2 separate regions of the Homo sapiens genome follow, and region 1 is linked to region 2. The links are contacts of gene promoters, found by promoter capture Hi-C in blood cells and fetal thymus (Javierre and others, 2016). All regions are on one chromosome and are shown on one strand. The core of a region is centred on a gene start or on the middle of the fragment in contact, and the rest is flanking DNA. Distances in the headings are between cores, read along the strand shown.

Region 1 (6,228 bases), core at 765-3,264, 530 kb before region 2:
TCTCCTGGGAGATGCTTGTCTCCATCCTTACTGCCCCAGACAGTGATGGAAACATCCAAGCTTGCGTGCCGGGGGCCCTGGGCTGGGACTCGCCTCCCCCAGCCCTTCTGTGGCAACTTTGGAGCTCAGCTAAATGCGATTCCTCAGAGAAGCCTTGTCTGGCCACCACTGAAGCTTAACTTCTCTATGTCTCCCCGATCCTTGCCTCTGAATTTTCTATCACTGCACCCTGTTTTCCATCTGTCTTGGCTCTTTTTCTTTTTTCTTTTTTTAGAGACAAAGTCTTGCCCTGTTGTCCAGGCTGGAGTGCAATGGCATGATCATAGCGCACAGCACCTTCAAACTCCTGGGCTCCAGTGGTCCTCTCACCTCAGCCTCCCAAGTAGCTGGGACCACAGGTGCACACCACCACCCCTGGCTTGTCTTTGCCTTTAATTATGATTTCTCTTGGTTTTCTTTTGCATCATCTGTCTGCCACATCAGACTCTGAGCTCCATAAGGCCAATGGCATCATCTGTTTTCTCCCTGCCAAATTTTTACCTTTAACACATTGATATGGTTTGGCTGTGTCCCCACCCAGCTATCATCTTGAATTGTATTTCCCATAATCCCCACACATTGAGGGAGGGACCAGGTGGAGATAATCGAATCATGGAGGTGTTTTCCTCCATGCTGTTCTCCTGATACTGAGTAAGCTCTCAAGAGATCTGATGGGGCTTTTTAAAATAAGGGGCTTCCCCCTTTGCTCAGCTCTCATTCTTCTCTCTCCTCCCGCCTTGTGAAGAAGGGCGTGTTTGCTTCCCCTTCCACCGTGATTGTAAGTTTCCTGAGGCCTCCCCAGCCCTGCAGAACTGTAGGTCAATTAAACCTCTTTCCTTTATAAATTACCCAGTTTCAGGTATGTCTTTATTAGCAGCATGAGAACAGACAAATACACACAGAGACCACAAATTTTGAGCCCCACCGTGTCCATTGAAATCTTGGCGCTGCCACTTCTTGGCAGTGTGACCTTGCAAACCCTTTACCATCCCTCCCCCTGCCCCACAGCCCTCAGTTTTCCCATCTGCAGAATAGGGATGCTGAGTGACCATCCCACCTAGGGCTGCTGGGAAGAGTACGCGCATCAGTTCACACAGAACCTCCACCCGTGTTGCCATCGAGGGTCCTGTTACTGTCATATGATAGCATTGTTGACATGAATAGCCTAGGATGAGCTATTTCTGCCCTGAAACCCTATTTTTGTCATCTGCAAAATGTGCAATTGAACTAAAATGTGTCCAGAACTCCACCCAATGTGAAGATGCTGGTGCCTGCAATCATTTATGCCTTTCTTATGCATTCACACAACCCCTACTGATTATCTGCCATAGCCCCAGCTCCCACAGGGACCTAAATATAGTTAATGTTTGTCTCAGCCTTTAAGAGAGGGAGATGGGGCCGAGTGCGGGGGTTCACGCTTCTAATCCCAGCACTTTGGGAGGCCCAGACAGAAGGATTGCTAGAGGGCAGGAGTTCAAGACCATCCTGGGCAACATAGCGAGACCCTATCTCTGTAAAAAAAAATTAATTAGTTAAAAATAGATAGATGGCTGGGCACAGTGGCTCACGCCTGTAACCCCAATACTTTGAGAAGCCGAGGCAGGCAGATTGCTTGAGGCCAGGAGTTTGAGACCAGCCTTGGTGACAGTGAAACCCCATCTCTACTAAAAATACAAAAATTAGCCGGGTGTGGTGGTGCATGCCTGTAATCCCAGCTTCTTGGGAGGCTGAGGCACGAAAATTGCTTGAACCCGGGAGGCAGATGTTGCGGTGAGCCGAGATCACGCCACCGCACTCCAACTTGCACGACAGAGCAAGACTCTGTCTCAAAATACACAAATAAATAAAGAGAAGGAGATGGAACAGCATACCAAACAACTGGAATTTAAGGCAACTGGAAAGAAAAATAACGCGAGAGGCGCTCGCCAGGAGTTGTAAACCTTGATGGAGCAACTTCCCAGGAAAACAGCCTTGGGCATGACTTCCCATTTTAAGGAAGATTTAAAAGCCCAGATCTCTCAGCAAGTTCCCTGCAAAGCCCCTTGATTGACAACCTGTGGCTCCCCCAGCACAAGGAGGAGGTGTAGGAACAAATGTTATCACCAGAGGGCGCTGCTGGACAACCATGTGCTCTCCGTACATCCAAGCACGCTGGCGAATGGGGACCATTCAACATAACATCCTAAATGATCCAACGCGATCACGAGTCCTTTTTTTTTTTTTTTTTTGAGAAGGAGCCTCGCTCTGTCACCCAACTTCTGCCTCCTGGGTTCCAGCGATTCTCCTGTCTCAGCCTCCCGAGTAGCTGGGATTACAGGCCTGCGCGCCACCATGCTCGGCTAATTTTTCTTAATAGCCCATTTTTTAATAGAACGGTTTTAGGTTCACAGCAAAATTGAGTGAAAGGTACAAAGATTTCCAATATATCCCTCCTCTGATCCTACTTTTATTGAAAAGGTTGAGTCTGAGCACAGTGGCTCACGCCTATAATTCCAGAGCTTTGAGGGGTCGAGGAAGGAGGATATCTTGAGCCCAGAAGTTTGAGACCAGCCTGGGCAACATAACGAGACCCCGTCTCTACAAAAAATAAAAAACTAACGAGGCGTGGTGACGTGCATCTGCAGTCCCAGCTAATATAGAGGCTGTGGCCGGAAGATCGCTTGAGCCCAGGAGTTTGAGGCTGCAGTGAGCTGCGATCGTGCCACTGCACTCCAGCCTGGGTGACAGAGTAAGACCCTGTCTCTAAAAAAATAAATAGCCAGGCGCGGTGGCTCATGCCTGTAATCCCAGCACTTTAGGAGGCCGAGGCAGGTGGATCACTTGAGGTCAGCCCAGCCAACATGGTGAAACCCCGTTTCCACTAGACACACAAAAATTAGTTGGGCCTGGTGGCGGGCACCTGTAGTCCCAGCTATTAGGGAGGCTGAGGCAGGAGAATCGCTTGAACCTGGGAGGTGCAGGTTGCAGTGAGCCAAGATCGCACCATTGCACTCCAACCTAGGTGACAGGCTAAAATTCCATCTCAAAAATAAATAAATAAAATAAAATAAAACAAACAAATAAATTAGCTGAGTGTGGTGGCGCATGCCTGTAGTCCCTAGTATTTGGGAGGCTGAGATGGGAGGATTGCTTGAGCCCAGAAGTTTGAGGCTGCAGTTAGCTTTGATCATGCCACTGCACTCCAGCCGGGACAACAGAGTGTGATAAAAGAGGAAGGAAGAAAGGAAGGGAGAGAGGGAGAGAAGAAGGGAGGGAGGAAGGAAAGGGAAGCATTCTAGGCAACCTGGGCAAAGGCTGGAGACTGGAAACAGCTGGGTGCCTCTGAAGCAAGGGTAAGTGTGTCTGGAGAGCAGAGAAGGAGACAGGAGCGGACAGCAGAGGCCAGTAGCTGAGGTATTGTGTCTTCTTTTGTTCTGGAGCCCCTGCAGGGAGCAGAGACTCAATTGGCAGGGAGGGTAGAGGGGGCTCAATCCAGGCAACTTAGTCTACATCCCTTTGTTGCAGAGAGGAGCCTCCTGTACACAGAACTGCTGGCCAGACTCCATTTCTTCGCCACCTCACATCCAGCACTGGTGGGACAGCTATGCCAACAGGCCCAGAGCTGGTTCCAGTTGTGCGCACACCCTGTGCTGGTGCCCCTCGGAGGATTCCTCCAGCCCCCGGGAGGACCCCTCCGGGCAACTCTCAGCGGCTGTCACAAAGGTGAGTCTCCCCAGCATAGCAAAAATCCCAGCAGGCACCTGCTTGCCTGGGGGCAGTGAAGGCCAGGTGTTTGAGGTTGTCCTCTGGGACTCCCCTGTGCTAGTTGGGAGGCCCCAAGCTTGCCATCAGAGCCTGCCCCTGCTGTCTCATGCTGAATCAGCTCTCTCTGCCCCACCTCAAGGGACTGTAGATGTCTCATATAAATTCTTCTAATGAGCCCGATGCTAGGGGGTGCCTCCAAGCTTCCCATCTCCAAGGGATTGGTGCCCATCTGACAGTTTCAGCTATTTACAAGCTCATGCTAGTAATTCTGAAAGCTAGGAACTGATGCCTGACAGTCCTCTGAGAAGCTGAAGGAACTGTAAGCAGCCCTTGGAATCCCAGAATGTAAGGGAGAGGAGAGGATTTAGGTTTTGCCATCCATTTGTCATTCATTTTTTTCTTCCTTCCATTCATCCAACCATCTATGCATCCATCCTTTCATTCACCTTCCTACTCTTCCATCCAATTACCCTCCCATCCATTCATTCATCTCTCTATCTACCTCCCACCCTTCCATTCATCTATCCATCCATCCACCAGCCTCCCACCCACCCATCCATTCATCCATCCATCTATCCATCCATCCATCCATCCATCCATCCATCCATCCATTAATTCACCTTCCTACTCTTCCATCCAATTACCCTCCCATCCATTCATCCATCTATCTACACTCCCACCCTTCCATTCATCTATCCATCCATCCATCCACCGTCCTCCCACCCACCCATCCATTCATCCACCCATCTTCTCTGCCACCCTTCCATCCATCTACTGCCCCATCCATCCATCCATCCATCCACCTTCCCACTCTCCCATCCATCTATCCTCCCACCCTTCCATCCATCTATCCATCCATTCACTCATCCACCCACCCATTCATACATCAGTTGTCCATTCATCCAATCATCTACCCACCCTTCCATTTATCCATCAATTCATCTATCAAACCACTTTCCTCTCCATCCATCCATCCATCCATCCTCCCACCCATCCACCCATCCATCTACCCACCCTGCTACCTTTCCATCCATCTATCCCCCATCTCTAAATCCATCTACCCTCCCACTCTTTCATTCATCTACTGTTCCACTGTTCCATCCATCCACCCATCCACCCATCCATCCATCTATCCATCTACCCTACCACTGTTTCATTTATCTAGCCCCATTCATCCATCCACCCATCCGTTATTCATCGATTCATCAAATCATTTACTCACCTTTTCATTAATCTATCCATCCATCCATTCATCAAATCACCTTCCCATCCTTTCATCCGTCCATCCACCCACCCTTCCATCCACTCACCCACCTACACACCTTTCCTTCCATCCATCCACTCACCCATCCATTCATCCATTCATTCATCCTTCAACCCTTTCTTTCTTCCTTCCTTCCTCTCTTCTATCCACCCATCAGTCATCCACCCCTCTACCCACTTATCCTTCCATTTTCTTCATCTGATCATCTTCCATTCATTCACTTACGCCTCCACCCATCCACACACTTAGCCATTCATCAACTTTCTCACTTCAATTTCATCGAGAAACTGATTCCTCCATCTACCCATCTACCTGCCCATCCATTCACCCACTCACTCATCCAACTAGCCACCTGTCTACCCACTCATTTACCTCCATTCACCCATCTATTTATCTGCCCACCCACAATCTCTCACACTGATTGTGAGACCACTGAGTTCACTTGTGGTTCAAATGTCAGAGCTCCTTACTGTGCCACATGACCTGGCAGTGAGAGCTGCACTCCCCAGGCACATTATTTTCAAAATAGAAATGCTAAGAGACACTAAGTACAATGCATGGAGGAGTTGATTTAGGGGCAGCCACTAGAATGCTGTGTTGAGGATTCTAAGACTGAAGCTAGCTTAGTGGGAAAGAGTGTGTATTTGTTAGAATATAGGCTCAGATGTTGTAAAAAAAAATGGCCAAAATATCAGTGGCTTAAATAAGATAGGAGTTTAATTCTCTCTTTTGAAATAGTTCAAGCAAAAGCAGAGGCAAGAGGGAGTCTTTAGGGTGTCTGGGACCCATACTCTTTCAGTCTGGCGCTCTGCCATTTTCAGTGTAGGGCTGTCCTCGTTGGCCCAATATAGCTGCTCCAACTCCTACCATCAAGATGGCATTCCAGCCAGTGGGGAATAGGAGAAGCAGATGGCAGGCCTCTTCATTTTAAGGGCACGACCTGGAAGCAGAACTAAATATTTCCACTCCTGTCTCATTGGCAAGAACTTGGATATCTCCAACTGTAAGGAAGCCTGGGAAATATGTTTTTATATTTTTATTTTTATTTTTACTTTTTATATGGAGTTTTGTTCTTGTCGCCCAGGCTGGAGTGCAGTGGCGCAATCTCGGCTCACTGCACCTCTGCTTCCCAGATTCAAGCCATTTTCCTGCCTCAGCCTCCCAAGTAGCTGGGATTACAG
Region 2 (6,919 bases), core at 2,631-5,130:
AGTGAGACTCCATCTCAAAAAAAAAAAAAAAAAAAAAAATTAAGGCTGAGCACAATGACTCACACCTGTAGTCCTAGCACTTTGGGAGGCTGAGGTGCAAGGATCACTTGAGCCCAGTAGTTAAAGAACATCTTGGGCAACATAGTGAGATGCCATCTCTATTTAAAAGAAAAAAAAATTTTAAAAATGTAAAAATTAAATTGAAAAATGGGATTTTTTTCAAGGAGAAAAATTAGGATTTTTGTTTGCTTTGTTTTGTTTTAGGAGATAAGGTTTTGCCATGTTGTCCAAACTCATCTCCAATGATCCATCCACAAAGTGCTGGGATTACAAATGTGCACCACCGCGCGTGGTGGCCCCTTTTTTTTTTTTCATGACGGAGTCTCCTTCTGTCGCCCAGGCTGGAGTGCAGTGGCACAATATGATCTTGGCTCACTGCAAGCTCCGTCTCCCGTGCTCATGCCATTCTCCTGCCTCAGCCTCCCGAGTAGCTGGGACTATAGGTGCCCACCACCACACCCAGCTAATTTTTTGTATTTTTAGTAGAGACAGGGTTTCACCGTGTTAGCCAGGATGGTCTCAATCTTCTGACCTCGTGATCCGCCCGCCTCAGCCTCCCAAAGTGCTGGGATTACAGGCGTGAGCCACCGCGCCCGGATTTTTTTTTCTTTTTTAAAGAGCGACAGGTTCTTGCCATGCTGCCCAGGCTGGAGTGCAGTGGTGTGATCACAGTTCACTGCAGCCTCGACCTCCCAGACTCAAGCAATCTCCTGCCTCAGCCCTTAAGTAGGTGGAACTATATGCGTGCACCTCCTCACCTAGCTAATGTTTGTACTTTTTGTAGAGCTAGGGGGTTCTCCCTATGTTGCCCAGGCTGGTCTCAAACTCCTTGCCTCAAGATATCCTCCCGCCTTGGCCCCCGAAAGCACTGGGATTACAGGTGTCAGTGGCATCTCAGAGTCTCCCTCTGTCGCCCAGGCTGGAGTGCAGTGACACAATCTCGGCTCACTGCAACCTCCACCTCCTCGGTTCAAGTGATTCCTCTGCCTCAGCCTCCCGAGTAGCTGGGACTACAGGCGCGTGCCACCACGTCTGGCTAATTTTTGTATTTTTGGTAGAGACGGGGTTTCACCACCTTGGCCAGACTGTTCCCGAACTCCCAACCTCAGGTGATCCGCCTGCCTCGGCCTCCCAAAGTGCTGGGATTACAGGCGTGAGCCACGGGGCTCAGCCAAAAACTCAGTATTTTGTGACTGTAGTCCCTGCTGACCCCATCCCTCACCCCCACCCCACATGCCAGGGTTCACTTACCCGTAGGAATGGCCAATGAGCACATTTCGCTTCTTGGCATAGCGCTTGAAGATTGCTCGCATGTCCTCAGCCAGCGCATAGAAGGTGTAGGCTGCGGCCACCTGGGGCGCAGAGCTGGCCCCGTGGCCGGCCAGGTCAGGAGCCACCACCTCATAGCCTAGGCGCACAAAGAAGTCCAGCTGCTCCTTCCAGATGGCCAGGGAACCGCCGACACCATGGATGAAAAAGAGCACCACGTCGGCCTGGGCGCCTTTGCAGCTAGTGATGCGCTTCTCACAGTCAATATGGATGGTCCTCTTGGGGCGCCTGGCTCGCCGCCGCCGCCCACCACTGCCACTGCCGCTGCCGCTGCCTGCGCTGCCGGGGGCCAAGCGGCCATCGCTGCCCGCCGGATCTGCCAGCTCCACCTCCAGGGCGGCCGGCGGCTCCCCAGAGCCATTCTGCCCGTGTAGGAGGTCGGCTCGAGGGGCTCGGCCCAGGTTTTCCACCAGCAACCGCCCATTGCGGTACACGGTGATCCGGCGCTGACAGCGGACCAAGCCGGAGAGGTCCCCCTGGGCTGCATCCGAGGATGCGGATGATGGTGGAGGTGGGGCAGCGGCTGGGGCGGGTCCTGCATGCTTCACCCGCAGCACGCGGCCGGGCTTGACCTCTACAAAGGTGTAGCCATCGCTGGACTCGACGCTCTCCAGTGGCCCCACGGCGTTGGGGGGCGTGCCCAGCAGGCAACAGAAGATACCGTCGGTCACCCCGGTCAGCATGGTGTGTCCTGTGAGTGAGGACAGCAGCCAGTTCAGGTGCTGTCTCAATGAGAACCCTGCACCGTGCAGCAGGCACTCCCTGAGCCTTGGGAGAACTGTTTTAGACTCCAGTTTGGGGAGCGCCAGATCAAGTGAGCCACGGCACTGAGATTTTTTTGTTTGTGTGTGTGTGTGTGTGTGTGTGTGTGTGTGTTTTTGAGACAGTCTCGCTTTGTCATCCAGGCTGGAGGGCAGTGGCCGGATTTCGGCTTACTGCAACCTCCCCCTCCTGGGTTCAAGCGATTCTCTTGCCTCAGCCTCCTGAGTAGCTGGGATTATAGGCAGGTGCCACCATGTCTAGCTAATTTTTGTATTTTTTGTAGAGATGGGGTTTCACCATGTTGGCCAGGCTGGTCTTGAACTCCTGACCTCAAATTTTCCTCCTGCTTCGGCCTCCCAAAGTGCTGGGATTATAGGTGTGAGCCACCGTGCACTGACATGTTTTGTCTGAGCAGTGCCTTTGTGGTAGTTACCCTCCTGGGTCACCCTAGTCTATCCTCAGAGAGAAAGACTTGGCTATGGCTTACCCCACAGGGTGTCCACAGGGAAGGTGGTGGCGTCTTGTGTGGGGATGTTCCTGGAGAAGGGGACATTGTGGCAAATGTGGACCAGCCGGAAGACACCCCCTCCCCCCAGCTGGAGTTTATACCATTTATGGCCTCCTAACTCATTCATTCAGGTATACACTAACTCATCCATTCAGGTATACACTAACTCATTCATTCAGGTATACACTAACTCACTAACTCATCCAGGTATGCACTCACTAACTCACATATCCCCAGGGCCTCCTAAGGCATCTAAAATATGCAAATCTTTGGTGAGCCCCCAGTGAGGCTCCTGGCTCTGAATTTGACTCCTGAAAGGTGAGGCCCTAGGAGAGGGGGATGGGGACTGAGCCACAGAAAGCCTTGCTCAGCTCCCCTAGACCGGGGTGAGCCGGGGTCTGTTTCATAGAGGGCCAAGCTGAGGCCCAGACACTCTGAGAGGAAGCTAGACTCTGAACTTCCTCCTTGGCACCCTGGATTCTGGGGATCTGCTATACAAGTCCCCAGAGGTGGCGAAGAGGATGGGAGAGGCAGGGCCCTGGCTGGGGGCCTCCAAGCCTCCATCCCACTCCTTGGGCCACCCCCGCCCCCGTGTCCATGGCAACCACAGGCGGTTACATAACCTAAGGGGGGGATACCCGAGCAGTGCACCCCCATTGTCGAGGTGTCTAGGGCCTGGAGATGGGACCAGCTGCCTGCCTGCCCCCTACCCCAGGTTGGGCGCCGCTAAGGTAACGCACGCCCGAGACTGAGCCGCAGTGGCCCCAGACATACTGGAGGGGAAGCAGGCCATGCCCCCCACCTCGAGTGGGGCCCTAATCCCGGATTGTGGAGGGCAACGCACAGGCGCCACCCCAGCCCCGCTTCCCCGCCCCCGGCCCCCGCCTTCCAGGTGTTCGTCATCCCTGCAGCGGGGTCGAGCCCACTGGGGCTCCGTGGCTTCCTACGAGCCCAAACGCGGGGTTGGTGGACACCACTCCTCCGAAGTGGAGGCCCCGGGGCTTCGATCTCTCCTTTTGGGGCCCGTTCCCCGCTCACCTCATCGAGGGCCGCGGGGCCCGGGTCGGGGCGGAGGGGTCCCAGGCGGAGAAGCCAGCGTCCGCCTGCTGGCGCCGTTTACATGGTGGCGCGGGGTCAGGCCGGGTGCGTCTACGCGGGCGGGCACCTGCCCCTGGCGGTCAGCGCAGGGGCATCCCGCGGCCGCCGAAACAGCCGGCCCTTTAAGTTCCTCCCCCGAGTAGGCGGAGCCACGTGCCGACGGGCGGGCACTTCGGCCTATCGCAGCTGCGGACTGACCTGGCCTAGTTAGGAGCCCAATGAGAGGCGGCAATTCCGTAGTGGAGGCGGGCTCTGGGAGCAACGGCCCCGCCCCTTTTGGGGGTTCACCGAGGTTGGGGGAGGGATGGGGCCTGGCTCAAGGCGGAGAAGGGGGTTGCAGTCTAGGGTCTGCGGGACGCCTGGGAGTGTGCGGCCGGGGCCCTCTCTCTGCAAATGGGTCTCCCAAGCCCTTGCCCCCCAGCCCCTGCCTCCCAATTGCCCTGTTCCTCTCCAAACGAGGCCCCCATACTCTTCTCTCTGTATTGACCTTTCCATTCTAGAAGCAGAGACTCCAAGATCTTTTTCCAATCTCCGGTGGGGAAACTGAGGCTCATAAAGGGCACAAGAGCATAAATCAAGCAAGGAGCAAAGCTGGGACTTGAACCCAAGGCTGTGTGATTCCAAACCCTGGGAACCATTATTTGCTAACCTCCCCCCTACGCCCCCCCCTTTTCTTTTGGTAGGGACGAGGTCTCGCTATCTTGCCCAGACTGGTCTCGAACTCTGGGCATCAAGCAATCCTCTCGTCTACGGCCTCCCAAAGGGCTGAGATCACTGGCGTGAGCCATCGTGACGGGCTTCTCTAAAGCTTTCAAGGAAAGTCTTGGAGCTGTGGGTAATTAGAGAGTTTGAATTTCATAATCAGCCGATTTAACCCATGGCTGCCATGGTTCTGAGAAGGGCTGATAGCAAGAGGCAGGCATCCCAGCTCTGTGGTACCGGCGGGGCCATGGTAGGCCCTCAGGAGAGCTCAGGTCTCAAATCCAGCCTCTGCCCTTTGCTGATGTGTGACCTCGGGCAAGTTACTTCACTTTCCTGAGCCTCCGTTTATTTCTCTATGAAATTAATCCTCTCATAAGTTTGCTACGCAGGTAAAGCACTCATCATAGTGTCGTGCATATAACAAATGCTCCATATATTATGGGCATTATTATAGTGGTGATGTTTTGCTAAACGATGCTACAGGTAGGATGGGCTTCGGAGGACGAGGGGTTAAATGCTCCTTGCTGCTTGGCCACTCACATCCCCTGGAATTTGCTGCCAGAGCTGGATTCCGTCCAGACACCTACTCTTGCCCACTAAGGGCACTTCTGGGAGACTATACAGTTTATTCATTTAGCAAACACCTCTCTGCATGAACCCCAAGCTGGCACTTGTAGGGATACAGCCCCAGGCCCCTGGCCCTTGAGGAGCCCTTGAACTTGGGGGAGAGTCAAGGGAAAGCAGTCGGGCCAGAAGAATGGACAGCGGTTGAGAGAAGACGACTCCTTTTTTTTTTGAGAAAGGATCTCACTCCGTTGCCCAGGCTGCAGTGCATTGGCGCTATCATTGCTCACTACAGCCTGGATCTCCTGGGTTCAGGGAATCCTCCCACCTCACCTTCAAGTACTTGAGACTATAGGTGGTTGCTACCATGTCCCCAGGCTGGTCTCAAACTCCTGGCCCCAAGGGATCCTCCCTCCTCAGCCTCCCAAAATGCTGGAATTACAGGCATGAGCCACACCTCACTCAGCCCTTGGAGAGGAAAGGATTTTTAAAGGGCGGATAGGGGAACACCAGGCAGAGAGGAGAGTGTGGCTGAAATGTAAGATGGTGTGTGTAGAGGGTTTTGCATGCCTGATGGAAGGGCTGAGCAGGTTTTACCTGGGGAAATGGGGAGCCAAGGATAGTGTGTGAGTAGGGGAGGGGTTCAGATCTGAGTATCAGAAAATTTTTCTTCCTTTTTTTTTTTTTTTTTTTTGGTTCTAACAACAGAGGAGAATTCTTCTAGGGCCCAAAATGGGGGCAAGATTGCCAAAGACAAGCTTGCAATCCCTGAGTTTACAGATTGAGAAAGCCCAGAGTGGCGCAGGGACCACCCCAAGGACACGCAGCGAGCTTGAACTCAGGCCTCCTCGGCTTCCTGCCAAGAGGCGGAGACTTGGCTGCAGCCAGGACAAGCTGCCAGCCAGCTGTGTGCCATCTGCCCAGCTCCCGCTGGGGGCGGGAAGACCAACCAGCCGCTTCCTGCAGCTGCCACCAGCTGCGCCCGGCCACCGCGGGGCACCCTCTGCCGGTCAATAGGAGAGAGAACTACAGCTCAGCTGCCAGCTGACCGCGGGAGATAATGCCTTGTGCGCACGCGCTTGCTCAGAAGGCGCCGTTCGCCGGCTACCTGTTGGTGTGTATGCAGAGCATCCCTGTGCCCCGCGGATATAGACTGGCGCGCCTCTGTTGCGCAGGCGCAGAACTACAACTTCAGGGTTTTCCCCAACGGCCTCTTTTTTGCACGTTAGGAGAAACTACATTTCCCATAATCCTTTGTTCCAGGGCTGGAGCGGCTCTGGGCTCCGGAATCGCCCGCAGCCGGTACTGCGGGACCCACTGCGGATATGGCTGTCTTGGCTGGATCCCTGTTGGGCCCCACGAGTAGGTCGGCAGCGTTGCTGGGTGGCAGGTAAGTCCTCAGGGGGACCCTTCCCCAAATCAGGGAATAAGGGCGGCTTCGGAGGCTGGCGCCACTCTTCACTGCCCGCGTGACCTGCCAGTGCCTTGCGCATTTTGCAGCCAGGCTCTGTCTCCGGGAGCCGAGGCTCAGAGAGGTTGAGCGCCAAGGTCACCCAGCGCCCCGTCTGACCTTTCTCGCCGTCCCTCTACCCACGCAGGTGGCTCCAGCCCCGGGCCTGGCTGGGGTTCCCAGACGCCTGGGGCCTCCCCACCCCGCAGCAGGCCCGGGGCAAGGCTCGCGGGAATGAGTATCAGCCGAGCAACATCAAACGCAAGAACAAGCACGGCTGGGTCCGGCGCCTGAGCACGCCGGCCGGCGTGCAGGTCATCCTTCGCCGAATGCTCAAGGGCCGCAAGTCGCTGAGCCATTGAGGATCGCGACGCAGTCGGCGGGACCCTCATGGAAGCATCGCCCTCGCCTCGGACCTTGCCTGGCGCTATTTTTGCAGGGAGCTG

What was found. The method cuts DNA at HindIII sites, captures the fragments that hold promoters and counts their contacts. A CHiCAGO score of 5 or more calls a contact.
Region 1: a contact is called between a fragment that was not itself captured here and the fragment with the promoter of ABHD8 in region 2, in 7 of 17 cell types (naive B cells, naive CD8 T cells, total CD8 T cells and 4 more). The highest score is 11.3, in naive B cells.

What each region holds. Positions count from the first base shown.
Region 1 is chr19:16,769,583-16,775,810 of GRCh38, forward strand. It overlaps NWD1 (NACHT and WD repeat domain containing 1), which reads left to right. Exons shown (of 19, transcript NM_001007525.5): 11 at 3,544-3,741. Among named protein-coding and RNA genes, the nearest start is that of NWD1, 53 kb to the left of the region's middle. The HindIII fragment of the contact is 3,685 bases long and covers 173-3,857 here.
Region 2 is chr19:17,299,545-17,306,463 of GRCh38, forward strand. It overlaps ABHD8 (abhydrolase domain containing 8), which reads right to left and starts at 3,881. Exons shown (of 5, transcript NM_024527.5): 1 at 3,698-3,881; 2 at 1,312-2,080. The coding sequence starts at 2,072. It overlaps MRPL34 (mitochondrial ribosomal protein L34), which reads left to right and starts at 6,328. Exons shown (of 2, transcript NM_023937.4): 1 at 6,328-6,413; 2 at 6,622-6,919. The coding sequence starts at 6,349. The coding sequence ends at 6,835. RefSeq lists enhancers at 1,417-1,917, 1,918-2,418, 6,272-6,351 and silencers at 2,776-3,070, 3,454-4,003, 6,582-6,641. The HindIII fragment of the contact is 14,500 bases long and covers 1-4,563 here.